Linked DNA regions of Homo sapiens: all the other regions are linked to region 1. Evidence: promoter capture Hi-C in 16 types of primary human blood cells and fetal thymus (Javierre and others, 2016). All regions are on one chromosome and are shown on one strand. The core of a region is centred on a gene start or on the middle of the fragment in contact, and the rest is flanking DNA. Distances in the headings are between cores, read along the strand shown.

Region 1 (2,798 bases), core at 81-2,580:
CCTCTCCTGTCCTTCTTCACATCCCTTGGCTTATCATCTGCAAGAAGGGGCAGTAAGGCTCTTTGGTAAGCGGGTTTCTTTGACTGGAATGCCCAATCCTCTACTGCCAACCCTCTATCCATCTATTGTAAAAACTACAGAATTCCTGGCCATCTAACTGGGCAACAAAAGTGAAGGCCAAGAGAAGATACCCAATGCCATCTTCTCCCATTCCAGCTGGAGGACTAAGACTCTAGGAGGCAAGGGGAAAGGGTGTCCTGGCTTTACTGTGAGAACTGGAGCAACTAAATTTTCTTCTCTGGGAGTCAGTTTTCCCTTTAGAAGGAGAGAGCTGGGCTGGAGGGCCCCAGGGGAATATGGATCGGTGGCAAAAAGAATGCTCAGCAAGCAATTTAACTCCTCAGACCGTGCCCCATCTTCAAAATGAGTGACAATAAAATGAATAATTGCACGTGGTCCACAAGGCCCCTGAATTTAAGTAAATCACACAAAGTGCTTAGCAGAGTCCCATGAACATAACGCGTTCCATAGATGTTACCTCTATTCCTGCTATTGTCATCATTCCGACCCTAACATTCAAGGTGTCTCTATTAAGCAAAAGGATTCCTTTGTGAATAATTTTAATCCGCCAATGTACTCAAGGGTCTATCTTAAGCACAGCTCTAGAGCCCTGATTGTAGCGCTTTCCATGGCCTGACGACCAGCTTTCCTGTCTCAAGGGGAAATCTGAGAATGGCCGAACAGCCATGACAGTCCTCTCGAAGAGTTCATTCCCCCTTCTCTCCGCGACCTGCTGAGGTCTGAGCCCGACTTCCCCAGCACGCCCATCTCAGTCACCATTGGTCGCCTCCTCGCTGGCGTGACTAAGACCCAGCCCTCTTCTCGCTGGGACCACTCTGAGGCGATCTGCGGAAGCTGAGGGGCCTCGGAGGAGGGGCCGCGATGCATCTCGGGCTTTGTAGTCCACCTGCACAACTACAGCCAGAGAGCGGGGCCTCACGAACCGGAGAACTACAATCCCCAGCAGCCGGGCGGAAGCGGAGCGAGGGGGGGCTCGCGTCACGTGGGCGTTCGGCCTGGGCGGGCTATTTCTCAGTGCGGCGGCGGCGGCGGTGGCGGCGGCTCCGGGGACCGGGGCCTTTTGTTTGGAGCGGCTGCGGGGGGGCCCCGGAGCGGCGAGGCCGGCGGCCTTCCCCAGCTTGCTCGGTCCCGGCCACCCCTCGCGGGGGTGGGGGGCCGCCCCCTGGGCCGGGCATCTCCTCAGGCGCCGCCGCCCCGCCCTAGGCCGGCCCCGCCCGGCCTGAGGGGAGGAACCGGCCGGGCCTCGCCGCGCGGCCCAGCCACCTCCGGAGTCGCCGCCTCTGCTCTCAGTGCCCCGGATCGGAGGCCGTCCATCGCCCCTCGGGCCGACGCCATGAAGATCAAAGATGCCAAGAAACCCTGTAAGACGGGGGCTGGGGCCCGCCAGGTTGGGAGGGCACCCTTGGGCCCCGTCTGAAAGCCCCTTGGCTGGGCGGTCGGCTTCCAAGCCCGTCGCTCCTCGCCGGCGCTTCGTCCGGTATGGGGGCGGAGGGACCATTTGAGCCACGAGTTCGAGGCTTCCGTCCTCCCCATCCCCCTATTCATGCATGGTGAATGCCTGCCGCCCCCTAGCCTTTCCTCCCACTTTCTCTTCGAGATCTGGGAGGTGCCAGAGGGAATTTCTGATTCTGATTTTTGTCAAACCAGACTAGTCTCCTCTCCCAGCTCCCCCTGAATTCAGGTTGAAAAGAGGCGGTCGCGGCTGTCAGGTTGCGCTGGCGGCTTTTAGCACCTGTTTTTAGGGATTTCCGGGCTTCCTGCTTGTGTCCTTGAAATGCCGGTGGGTTCCTGGGAGTTGTCACTGTTGTTACAGTTGGAGCTTTCAAACGTACGTGCATGCAGTCTGCCAGTGTGTAATTGCTTTGGCTTGTTTTTGTTTAGAATATCAACTAGTTCATGTTTGTTTTAGAAAACGCAGATAAACAAGAAAGATAAAGTCACCCGTATTCCCCGCACCCGGAGCGAACCGCTATTAATATTATGGTGAATACCCGTAGATATTTTTCTATGCATGTACTTAAATTCTGACTATGCTTTTAGAAAGGTCGACTTTCATTTGCTTCCTTTTATGTTTAGTCTTTTAAAAACCTTTTATTCCAGTAATTGACTTATTTAATCACCCAGCCATTGTGATTGTCACTCTTTTTAAGTATAGCCTCCCAGAAGGACTAGGAACGTGGGGATTCATGCTCATCTTAGAGTCGTATTGATACTTTTGCTGTTTTTACAGTGTTTCATGTGATCTCTTTAACTGTTAAGAAATCCACAACTATAAAACAGGGCGCTGACACCTTCCCTGCCCGCCTATCGGGGTTCCTGTAAAACTCACCTGAGAGGCAACAAGCCAAAACCCTGTGAAAACTACAAATTCCTATATAACTGTAAGGTAATTTGGTCTTAACTTCACAGGTGAGGAAATTGAACTTAGCCCCAGAGTAACTTTTCCAAGCATGTACCAACCATGTGCTATGTGGTTCATAACTCTAAGGGGACTGACTCATAATACAGTGTTCTTTCTCTTGCACCCATAGAGCATTGTCTAAGTACTTTATCTGGTAGTTTCATCTGTTAATTAAAATTTTTAAAAAATTATTTATAACTGAATAGATCCTGTCATAGTTGTTCAAGAAATCTATAAAATAGTGATGTGAAGGCTTAAATGAAAAGTAATATAGAGAGACTTTAAATTTTCATTTGCTGAATTAAACTAATGCATC
Region 2 (2,798 bases), core at 187-2,686, 1.2 Mb before region 1:
AAGACTCCGGTCACCTCGTACTATTTCACTAGCTGAAACTTTCCCATGCATGTTTTCATACAGTCACTTCTTGTGGGTTTATTCTCTTAAGAATGTATATTTATATTTCTTGATCTAACTGAATAACTGAACATCCTAACACTATTTAGTCTTGTGTAACAAAATTAGGAACACAAATGCCCGCCTTCTGAATCCTCACTAGTAAAATACCCAAAAAGCTTCTGTTTTATGATGAAGTAAAGGAGGAAGAGGTATAAATGATTAAAAAATGATTTAAACCAAACTATGTAACAGGCTTTATACTTCAGGTTTCACATATATTACTTTATTTCACCCCCTCAATAATCCCCTAAATTACACATTTGGCCTTCCATGTTACAGAGGATAAACTGAGGCCGAGAAAGCTGAAACGATGTGCCTAAGGCTACATGTCCACATCTCTCTGGTCAAAAGCCAAAGCTCCCTCTCCTGCAGCAAATCTCAAAGTCTATAGAAGAGTCCTTGTGTGGGATTTGCTGACATCACATGGGCTTGACACCTCTGCCCTCATCATTAAGTTCTCTTCATATGGTACTGCTCTCCATATTAGAATGTAACTTTAAATTCTTCTTCGATAACTTTTCAATAGCTATGTAAATAGGTGGAAAGCATCATTGGTTTTATGAAAATCCCTGAGGCTAAATTTGACCCTTAGAGCAAATTGAAAAAGAGATGAAGCCCCTTTCTATGTCTCTGGAGTGGAAATCTATGAGAACAAACCAACAAACCTGGCCCAAATTATAAGGAAAGCAAGGTATTTCTAACACAGCTACCCAGACAAGAACCACCTGGGTAAAAAGACTTATGCCAAAACCATAATAATCATATTAGTTCACTGCATTTGCATAGCATTTTATAATTTGTTCTTTTGCAGACAATGTTTATTTGATCCTCACCCACACAATGAAATCTTATAGATGAGGAAACTGAGGCATTGAGAAGTTAAGTGACCAATGTAAGGTCATGCAGCTGATAAAGAAGGGCATTCCTATTGACCAGGTGTCTTGAGAGCGGCAAATGCTCACTTGTTCCTCTTTGCTTCCTTTTTTTCTCCTTCTTTCTTTCCCTGCCTTCTTACTGTCTCTCTCCCTTTGTTCCTTCCCCAAATATATGTGTAGCCCATCGTAGGGAAACAGGTGCTGAAATTAGAAAGAGTAGCTCCAAAATTACCTATTCCCTCTTCCATTCTTCTCTCCATGGCACCTCAACTTCTTTGGGGCATCAGCGCCTTTCTCCTCTGGGATGAGAAACTGGCTTTATCTATTGGCTCATCATTTCTGCTCTTTCACACTTCAGCTTCCTTGGAGCTGATTTCACACCTGATTCAACCCTATAGCCTCTCTCATGGCAATTGGTCATCCTTGGCTCTCTCCAGATATCCCAACACTGTGTGGCTACTCACTAGAAGCTCAGTTGCTTCCAGTGTGATACAGATGCAGTGGCTGGCTGGGGCTCCTGCCGCATCTCCTCATGCTGTCCCCTGCTCCTGTTATCCCCTTAGTCAGAGAATGATGAAGGGGTTAGGAATATGAGGAATACATTTTTTGTTTGTTTGCTTTTTAACCAGGAGGGGGTAAGGGAAAAATAAAAACTAGAAGACTGCAGTCCCAACTAATCCATAGGAAGACATCCATCCCCAGCAGGGACTAAAGAAACAGTATAAAGAACAGGCTAATGCCGTGGTAGTGAGTATGGTCTTTAGAGCCAGGCAGGAACAGATATGAATCTGAGCCATCCCACTTCTCAGCAATGGTGCCTGGAGGAAGCTGTTTCAACTGTCTGAGCTTCAATTCCCTCATCAATAAAATAGAAACCTTAAGACGTATCCCTAGTGTTATACATTAATTAATTCAACAGATATCTATTAAGCATCAACTAATAAATGATTATTAGTTGAAGACACACTAATCATTGTGTTTTCAACACTCAGAATAATCCTAATATTAGGATTAGAGAACTCATATGATTATTATGGTTTTGGCATAAGTCTTTTTACCCAGGTTCTTCTTGTCCGGGTAGCTGTGTTAGAAATGCCTTGTTTTCCTTGTGATTTGGGCCAGATTATGCTGGTTTCTTCCCATAGATTTCCACCTCAGAGACATAGAAAGGGGCTTCATCTCTTTTTCAATTTGCTCTAAGGGCCAAATTTAGCCTCAGGGATTTTCATAAAACCAATGATGCTTTCCACCTATGTGTATGGCTGTTGAAAAGTTATCAAAGAAGAATTTAAAGTTATGTTCAAATATGGAAAGCAGTACCATGTGAAGAGAACTTAGTGATGAGGGCAGAGGGGTGAAGCCCATGTGATGTCAGCAAATCCCACACAAGGACTCTTCTATAGACTTTGAGATTTGCTGCAGGAGAAGGAGCTTTGGCTTTTGACCAGAGAGATGTGGGCATGTAGCCTTAGGCACATCGTTTCAGCTTTCTGAGCCTCAGTTTATCCTTTTATAACATGGCAGGCCTAATGTGTAATTTAGAGGATTTTTGAGAGGGTGAAATAAAGTAATATATGTGAAGCATGAAATATAAAGCCTGTTACATAGTTTGGTTTAAATCATTTTTAATCATTTATACCTCTTCCTCCTCTATCTCATCATAAAACAGAAGCTTTTTGGGTATTTTACTAGTGGATTCTAGAGGAGGGTATTTATGTTCCTAACCTTGTTACATAAGACCAAATAGTGTTAGGACCTTCAGTTATTCAGTTAGATCAAGAAATACAGATACACATTCTGAGGAGAATAAATTTTAGAATT
Region 3 (2,798 bases), core at 114-2,613, 1.1 Mb before region 1:
CACACACCCCAAATTCATATATTGAATACCTAATCTTCAGTGTCTCACAACATGACTGCATTTGGAAACAGGGTCTTTAAATAAGTAATTAAGTTAAAAAGAGGTTGTTTGGTCAGTATGACTGGTGTCCTTATAAGAAGATATCAGGGCACAGACAAACACAGAGAGAAGACCACGGTGAAGACTCAGGGAGAAGACAGTCATCTGCAAACCAAGGCAAGAGGCCTCAGAAGAAACCAACCCTGCCAACACCTTAATCTCAGACTTCTAGACTCCAGAATTGTGAGAAAATACATTTCTCTTGTTTGCATGAACCAATCTGTGATAGTTATGGCAGGCCTAGCAAACTAATATACTACATAAACCTAGAAGATTCCCAGGTAAGCCCCCATTCCACCTTCTTCTCTTAACAATTTTTTACTTGCTCAAAGGAAGATGTCAGACCTCTTAGAGCTGTCTCATCGGACAGCGCCCCCCCGCCACCCCACCCCCACACACACACCTCCACACTAAAGAATCTTAAAGTGTAAAAAATAGCCAAATGCTATATTCACATTATATTCTCTGGAGGGTGTGTCAACTGGCAATCCTCATACAGAATTGTGCTCCAATCTATGGTGTCTCCCAGTCATTTCTGCTTCGGCCTTACAAAACTCGAAAGTATTGGGGAAGCAGGGCAATGGAACTTAACAAGCATCACCTGATTTAGGAACTCATTAGTGCTTCTTTTATTGTTCACTCTTGTTTCCTGTGTGTTAGCAACCACCCCAAAACTGGGCTAAATCTTAGGGAACCTCGTAGTATATGCTGCTTTCTTCTTACATAGCCTTGTGGGGTAAACCCTTACAAAACAGAGGGAAAGGGCCAGGAGCAGTGGCTCACGCCTGTAATCCCAGCACTTTGGGAGGCTGAGGTGGGTGGATCACGAGGTCAGGAGATCAAGACCATCCTGGCCAACATGGTGAAACCCCGTCTATACTAAAATACAAAAAATTAGTGGGGCGTGGTAGCATGTACCTGTAGTCTCAGCTACTTGGGAGGCTGAAGCAGGGGAATTGCTTGAACCCAGGAGGTGGAGGTTGCAGTGAGCTGAGATTGCACCACAGCACTCCAGCCTGGCGACAGAGCAAGACTCCATCTCAAAAAAAAAAATAAATAAAAATAAATAAATAAATAAATAAATAAAACAAAACATAGGGAAAGTCAACAGTCAGCTGGACCCACATGCCAGGCTCAGAGAGGCTCAGAGAGGCTCAAAGATCTGGAAGCCTTCCCCCAACATAGGAGACCAGGAAGAGCTAACATCCAGAGAGGGAGGAAATAAGGCCAGCAAGACACATGCTTGCCAAGTCTTATCTCATCTCTAATTTAAACGTCACCTCAACACCCAGTTGAAAGTAACTTCCAGTCACATACCATCACATCACCCTGTTTTAATTATCTGCATTGCTTGGATTGCTTTCTGACATTGCTCTTGTTTATTTGTGCATGCATTTTATTATCTGAATTTAACCCCACTGCACCATGAAAGCACTCACTGCTGTATGGCCAGTGCTTAGCACAGAGCACATGCATAGTAGGCACTCATTGGCTAGCTCTTGGATCGATATAAGAAGTGAGAGCACCATCACCTTCCTTGCCCCCTGATATGGTCTGGATCACTGTCCCCACCCAAATCTCATGTTAAAATGTAATCCCCAGGCTGGAGGTGGGGCCTGATGGGAGGTGATTGGATCATGGGGGTGCTTTCTTATGGTTTAACACCAGGAGAAATGACACCAAAGGTGCTATCATCATGATAGCGAGTTCTCCTAAGACCTGGTTGTTTAAAAGTGTGTAGCACCTCCCCCGTGTCTCTTGTTCCTGCTCTGGTCACATAGGACAAGCCTGCTTTCCCTTTGCCTTCTGCCATGATGGCAACTTTCCTGAGGCCCCCCCAGAAGTCGAGAAGATGCCAACATCACCCTTCTCGTACAGCCTGAAGAACCATGAGCCAATTAAAGCTCTTTTCTTTACAAATTACCCAGTTTCAGGGATTTCTTTATAGCCATGCAAGAATGAACTAATACACCCCCAGATCAAGACTGATCATCTTAACAGAGGGAAGCATCCACCTGTTGAGCCTGTCAACCAAGGCTCTCAACTCCACTTGTTCTGAGGAGCGGAGGTGTGGCCCAGGCAGAATTCCATGAAGGCAGGATTACATTCTCATTAATGCTGTGTGACACAAATTTACTGATGCTCTTTCCCCCATGTTTACATCATGAATTGGTTCTCTGCAAAATGAACCACTGATTGATTCCCCGTTCTTCTCCCTCTCATGCAACATCTGTCTTGTGGTTTAATCAGGAAGGCCTGTGGGACTCTCCTATTTATCCAGAAAATAAATAGGCTCCTCCTTGTAACTAATAACAGATAAACAGGATGGAGGCACATCTATATATGCCAAGAAAACTTTGCCTAAGCAATTAGGACCTATGATCCCATTCCATGCCTCTGGCCCATTTTTTAAAGAAAATAACAAAATTAATCAGCTATTCCTCAATGTAATCACAACATAACATAAGACATTGCAATTAATGGGCTGTAACCAAAAAATTATTGTAGAGCAAGGTAGGTTAATCTAGCATGTCGGTCACTCCTGGATCCAACTCATCTGTTTGGTCAATGCCCAAATCCCTCCCTGGCTCCTTCTCTGTAATTTCCCTAGCTAATACAGGCAATGTAGTGAAAAATCTCATAAACAGTGTTCTCCCCAAAGAAGCTTACAGACAATGCTAAGATATTTAGGTGTCTTA
Region 4 (2,798 bases), core at 125-2,624, 1.1 Mb before region 1:
GGGTTGGCGATAGGGAGAATCAAGAGCTTTCCTGCTTACCTAGAGTTTGCTCTATCAGATGAATGTTAATAGCCTCATCCAGGTCACTGCGAATGTCACTAATTCATTCATTTTTATGGCTGAGTATTATTCTATCATAAGTATATTCTAAGTGAAGTAACTCAGGAATGGAAAACCAAACATTGTATGTTCTCACTCATAAATGGGAGCTAAGCTATAGGATGCAACGGCATAAGAATGACAGAATGGACTCAAGGGGAAATGGTGGGAAGAGGGTGAGGGATGAAAGACTACAAATAGGGTGCAGTGTATACTGCTCAGGTGATAGGTGCACCAAAATTTCACAAATCACCACTAAAGAACTTATTTATGTAACCAAACACCACCTGTTTCCCAATAACCTATGGAAATAAAGTATATATATATGTATATATATTTAAAAATGTTAATAGCCTCAAGCCCACTGCTAGTTAATGCTGTAGGCATCTGCCGGTGGGATCTACCTCAACTGTGAGACTAAGACGTCAAGGCCCAGATTAATATCTTTCAGTGCATCCTTCAAATACTTTTGCACACTATTTAAAAGTCTTAAGAATATTATGCAGGGCCATCATTCCCCCCGACAGCTTCATTTCCTGCCTCCTCTGCCCCTTCTTACACCACCTCCCTGCACCACACCCACAATCACCCTACACTCTTACAAGATGGTGCTGTTTGAAGTTTCCTAGAAGTGCCACAATTCTCAGATCTCTGTGTGCTGTAGTCCTTCCTCCAATAGGAATACCTCTTCTTGCCCTCTAGGTTAAGTAGTTCTGGGAAGATTTACTTGGTGACTCCCCCCACCTCCCAATTCCCCCTCCAGTTAGACAACCCTCCTGCGGCAGCCCATGCTCATGAACTACTGGTCTGTCTAGTAGTCGCAATGGCTCTTTCTGCAAAGCTGCCAAGGCTCATACTGGGTGCAGTGACATCAGCCCTGCTCCTTTTCCACATCTCGTTGGCACTGACTCATCTAGAAACAATGATATTTGACAGGGGCCAACTACTAGCAGTCCAAAGGCCAAATCTGGAGGGTGACATATTTGTTTAACAAGCATATTTTATTTTACAGTTTTTAATGTTTTTAAAAATTGCCAGCAATTAACAATCAAGAGATTTTACCTGAACTTCTAGATTTCTAGTCTCTCTCTAAATAAATGTAGACACTGCATTTCCACAAGGCAGTTTCAGCTGGAGGCAGCTTCAGCAGCTGTCCTTGAGTTTGAACATGCACTCTAGTTGCCACAATCTCCAATGCTGAGGCCAAATTTCAATGGCTATTTACCATTGTGCTTACACAGTTGTTTTTCTTAAGATAAAAACAAAAATGAAATACTGCTTGGCCCTGTGTTCTATCAAAAGTGGGAAAATAAGAGAGACTGAAAAGATATATGTTTCAGGAAACATGGGAGAGGGTGTATATATTTACAGATGTGAAGAATATTCTTAGATGTAGGTCTACATAGAACAAGTTCTTCTTAAGTTGCCATAATAACAACAAACCCAGTTTGCTTCATTCATTTAAGTTACCTGCCTAGTCCCCATAGACACTGAGTTGAGACCTTGGTGGGTGTATTACAAACGAGAAAGGCCAACAGTTTCTGGCCAATAAGGAGGCTTTGTATTGGGTGATAGCAAACCAACCCAGTTAGGTCTTCTCATTTCAGAAGTATAAATAGTAGACATTACTGCAGAAAGCAAATTACTTGAGCCAAGAGCGCCTCTTGAATAATCTCAATCTCTTGATTTTTTGGAGAAATCAATTATCTGGTTTAGAAAGAGACAATAGATTCCTCATAAGCCTTCATGTTCTAGCAATAAGCCTCCAGTCATCTGGGTGTATCTCTTCTCTAAGTCCAATACACATCTGCATGCCATGTTGTAATTGTGGCTTTACTGGACTTCCACCCATTCCTAGAGGCTGAGTGCTCCTTCATTCCACAAACGTCTATGGAGAACTCATCATGTGAAAAGTCCTGAGGATATATCTTGGGGAACAACACAAACAAGATTGCCACTCTCATCAATCCTGTAGGCTAGAAGGGAAGGCAGAAAATCCATGTACATAATACATTTTAATAAAGAAAATAAATTGTATAAAGAGTACTGTGGGAGAGTGGAAAAGGGGATGGTCTGGGAAGGGCTGTCTGAGAAAGTAATAGTTAAAAAGTGACCCTTGAGGAATCACCAGACTGTCTTCCACAATGGTTGAACTAATTTACACTCCCACCAACAGTGTAAAAGTGTTCCTATTTCTTCACAGCCTCGCAAGGATCTAGAACCAGAAATACCATTTGACCCAGCAATCCCATTACTAGGTACATACCCAAAGGAATAGAAAACAGTCTACTATAAAGACACATGCACATGTATGTTTATTGCAGCACTATTTACAATAGCAAACACTTGGAACCAAACAAAATGCCCATCAATGATAGACTGGATAAAGAAAATGTCGTACATATACACCATGGAATACTATGCAGACATAAAAAAGAATGAGTTCATATCCTTTGCAGGGACATAGATGAAGCTGGAAGCCATCATTCTCAGCTAACTAACGCAGGAACAGAAAACCAAACACCACATGTTCTCACTCATAAATGAGAGTTGAACAATGGGAACACATGGCCACAGGGAAGGGAACATCACACACTGGGGCCTGTCTTAGGGTGGAGGGCAAGGGGAGGGAGAGCATTAGGACAAATAGCTAATGCATACAGGGCTTAAAACCTAGATGACAGGTTGATAGGTGCAGC
Region 5 (2,798 bases), core at 116-2,615, 1.0 Mb before region 1:
AGAGTAAGAAATTTAAGGATAAATCACTGCAGTTTTATTTAAAATTTTAGACAAAATTTAAATCATGTATATAAATACAAAGATGAACATTGGTTCTTTAAACACTGACAAAATCCTGAAACAATATAATGTATATATTTTAAGCCACATTTCCTATTTTTACAACATAGTTTACAACCTTCCCATTTTTACAACATAGTCTAAAACTAAGTTTATAAAAAAAAGTACATAGGAAAATATGATTGAAGCATTCTCAAATACATGGCTCTGAGGGTAGATTACTTGTTTTTTATCATTTAATCCATATACAATGCAGCAAATAGATACATTAATTATAACATTTTCCTTCAATTAATAGTTTATTCACTGTCATAGAAGCTCCATGAAGGGGCATCACTTAAGAAGCTCTCCAGGTTAGAGTCAAGCAAATTCTGAACACTTGGTCAAAGGCACATGAAAATGCCAGGTCCTGGCACAATGAGTAAATAACCCAGAAGGTGATATATGTCAGATCAAGACAATCTTAAGCACCATAGTAACTTTTGAGGCAAGTGGCACCGTACTCTTATTAAAGACAAGTCTTTACTGTTGAGGGCACTGGGTCTCTGGAGTAGATTTAGAAGACACATATAGAATAGGGTGTAATTTCTTACAAGTTTCTTTTTCCAATTTGCTTGAAGTTTCTTTTCCTTCTTTAACTTCTGTTTGAAGCTTTGATTCAGCAGCTAACCTACAGGCATTAAAGCATCCACTCTGAATTCAAATGTGGTTATGAAGGATTGAAGAAACAAACCCCCAGTATAATGGGCCTCCAATAAGGCATGGTATTCAAGGAAAAAAAATATAGTTGACTCTAATACTGTAAGAATATTAAGTCACTGGCTGTCTAAAAGTCTTTTTATATCAATAGGCTCAATTATTGTTATTATTACTTTTTGAGACAGAGTCTCACTCTGTCACCAGGCTGGAGCGCAGTGGCATGATCTCGGCTCACTGCAACCTCCGCCTCCCGGGTTCAAGCGATTCTCCTGCCTCAGCCACCGGAGTAGCTGGGACTATAGGTGCGCACCCCCACATGCAGCTAATTTTCGTATTTTTAGTAGAGACAGGGTTTCACCACGTTGGTCAGGATGGTCTTGATCTCTTGACCTCGTGATCCACCTGCCTCAGCCTCCCAAAGTGCCGGGATTACAGGTGTGAGGCACCACGCTGGGCCAATTATTTTTTAAGTCTAAAGAATATCTTTAAAAAGTCATGGCAAGCCCTAAATTAAAGAAAATATGACAGGGCACCTATCATGATAAGCACACCTAACACAAAAACTGAAATGTTACAGCAATATTTTAATGTTAACATGACATACAAAAGGCAAGACAAAAATAACATGGAATCTTGGGCTGCATGAATAGATGTCTATTTGTTTCATATTAAAAAATTGAGTTTCAACTAGTAGAATAAAGAAAAGATAAACAGTAGAGAGATTCTTAAAGGCCTGTAAAGATTCTCGGTAACAAGAACACCAATTAGTTTTGTAAAGCATGCAATAGTGAAGTTCCCAATAAAAGCCATATTTATTGTTCCAAAATTATCTTAGGATTGTGTATCTAAGTTAAACAGGCAGAAAACAAAGAGTCGGAAACATTTTAAGTTAGCAGATGGACTCACACACACACACACACACACAAATGTTTTGTGGTATTTTATTTTTTGTTTAACGAACAAGACAAAAAGTTTCCAACGTGCTACTTGAGTCAATTAGCCACATACATTTGCTTAAGTGATTTTTTATCAAGCAAAAAAAGGCAGAAAAAGGAATGAAGACAATACAGATAGCAAGGCTGGCACTTATCAATTCTGGAAATCCACCTCCAGAAATATACACTGGTCAAGGATGTTTATACAATGCATCACATATAAACAGGCATAATCTGCTGGATTCATTTCAGAACTCTTTGAAACCATGGGTATGTGGCAGATACTCATTTGAAGTTACTTTTTCCTTAAGAATGGTAAGCTTTTATTTTATGTGACTCAGAGGTTATAACATTCTATAAAAATCCAAGGAGGGAGTAATAAAATTACTATGCCTTATAATAATAGCAGCTAACATTGTTAAAGTGCTTTTACTGTTGAATATTACATTTAGTAGCACTGAAGACTTGGAGAGAAATCAGATAAAACATATAAGCCCTTTTAAACAGGGCTGTCTTACTCTCTCTACTCAAATGCACATTAGTAAAATGTCTTATTAATCTGTCTCCACTCTCTAAGACTAAGGTAGCCCTAGTAGCACCTTCAACATCTCATTTCATAGGAGATAATCTAGGCTAGTTATTGGCACATCTTTTTGAATGTCTAGATATTTGTTTTAAATGCCTCTAACAATCCCATTGCATGCAGACATCCTTCATCTTTCTTTTACTTTCTTCAATTTCCTCATTCACTTCTCCTGCTGCGCACATCCAGAACTCGAGCCTCAGCCACTGCTACTTACCTTTCCCTTCCATTCACTTTCTCTTACCTTCTGACCTCAATTATTTTTATTAAGACAAAGCCCTTGGGACATTAATTCCTTCAGACACACATATCTGACGCTATTTCTTTTAGTCACAAACTCAATTATGCAGAAACTAGAGGCTTTCAAGTTTTGGAAACAATGAAAATGAGTTAGCTTTGATATGTAAAAATGTCAAAATAAGTATTGAAGCCCATTTTTGAATGCCTAGGATAAGCAATTCAAAAGACATAAAAAATTCACCTAAGTTTCCTAGAAGGCTGAAATTTCTTAGACTACTGGA

The links. Contacts are between HindIII fragments. The CHiCAGO score rates a contact against its expected background, and 5 or more counts as called.
Region 2: a contact is called between a fragment that was not itself captured here and the fragment with the promoter of PANK3 in region 1, in 1 of 17 cell types (naive CD8 T cells). The highest score is 5.7, in naive CD8 T cells.
Region 3: a fragment that was not itself captured here is called in contact with the fragment with the promoter of PANK3 in region 1 in 1 of 17 cell types (naive CD8 T cells); the score reaches 5.6 in naive CD8 T cells.
Region 4: a contact is called between a fragment that was not itself captured here and the fragment with the promoter of PANK3 in region 1, in 1 of 17 cell types (naive CD8 T cells). The highest score is 5.4, in naive CD8 T cells.
Region 5: a fragment that was not itself captured here is called in contact with the fragment with the promoter of PANK3 in region 1 in 4 of 17 cell types (erythroblasts, total CD4 T cells, M2 macrophages and 1 more); the score reaches 8.1 in erythroblasts.

Annotation. Positions count from the first base shown.
Region 1 is chr5:168,577,900-168,580,697 of GRCh38, reverse strand. It overlaps PANK3 (pantothenate kinase 3), which reads left to right and starts at 1,330. Exons shown (of 7, transcript NM_024594.4): 1 at 1,330-1,442. The coding sequence starts at 1,415. RefSeq lists a silencer at 1,053-1,382 and enhancers at 899-1,442, 1,533-1,602. The HindIII fragment of the contact is 14,951 bases long and covers 1-2,798 here.
Region 2 is chr5:169,748,609-169,751,406 of GRCh38, reverse strand. All of the region lies in intron 23 of DOCK2 (dedicator of cytokinesis 2), which reads right to left. Among named protein-coding and RNA genes, the nearest start is that of DOCK2, 110 kb to the right of the region's middle. The HindIII fragment of the contact is 2,431 bases long and covers 221-2,651 here.
Region 3 is chr5:169,690,218-169,693,015 of GRCh38, reverse strand. All of the region lies in intron 9 of DOCK2 (dedicator of cytokinesis 2), which reads right to left. Among named protein-coding and RNA genes, the nearest start is that of DOCK2, 54 kb to the right of the region's middle. The HindIII fragment of the contact is 2,807 bases long and covers 1-2,766 here.
Region 4 is chr5:169,628,240-169,631,037 of GRCh38, reverse strand. No RefSeq gene overlaps it. Among named protein-coding and RNA genes, the nearest start is that of DOCK2, 7.6 kb to the left of the region's middle. The HindIII fragment of the contact is 3,172 bases long and covers 1-2,798 here.
Region 5 is chr5:169,601,992-169,604,789 of GRCh38, reverse strand. It overlaps SPDL1 (spindle apparatus coiled-coil protein 1), which reads right to left. Exons shown (of 12, transcript NM_017785.5): 12 at 12-730. The coding sequence ends at 583. Among named protein-coding and RNA genes, the nearest start is that of SPDL1, 20 kb to the right of the region's middle. The HindIII fragment of the contact is 1,303 bases long and covers 714-2,016 here.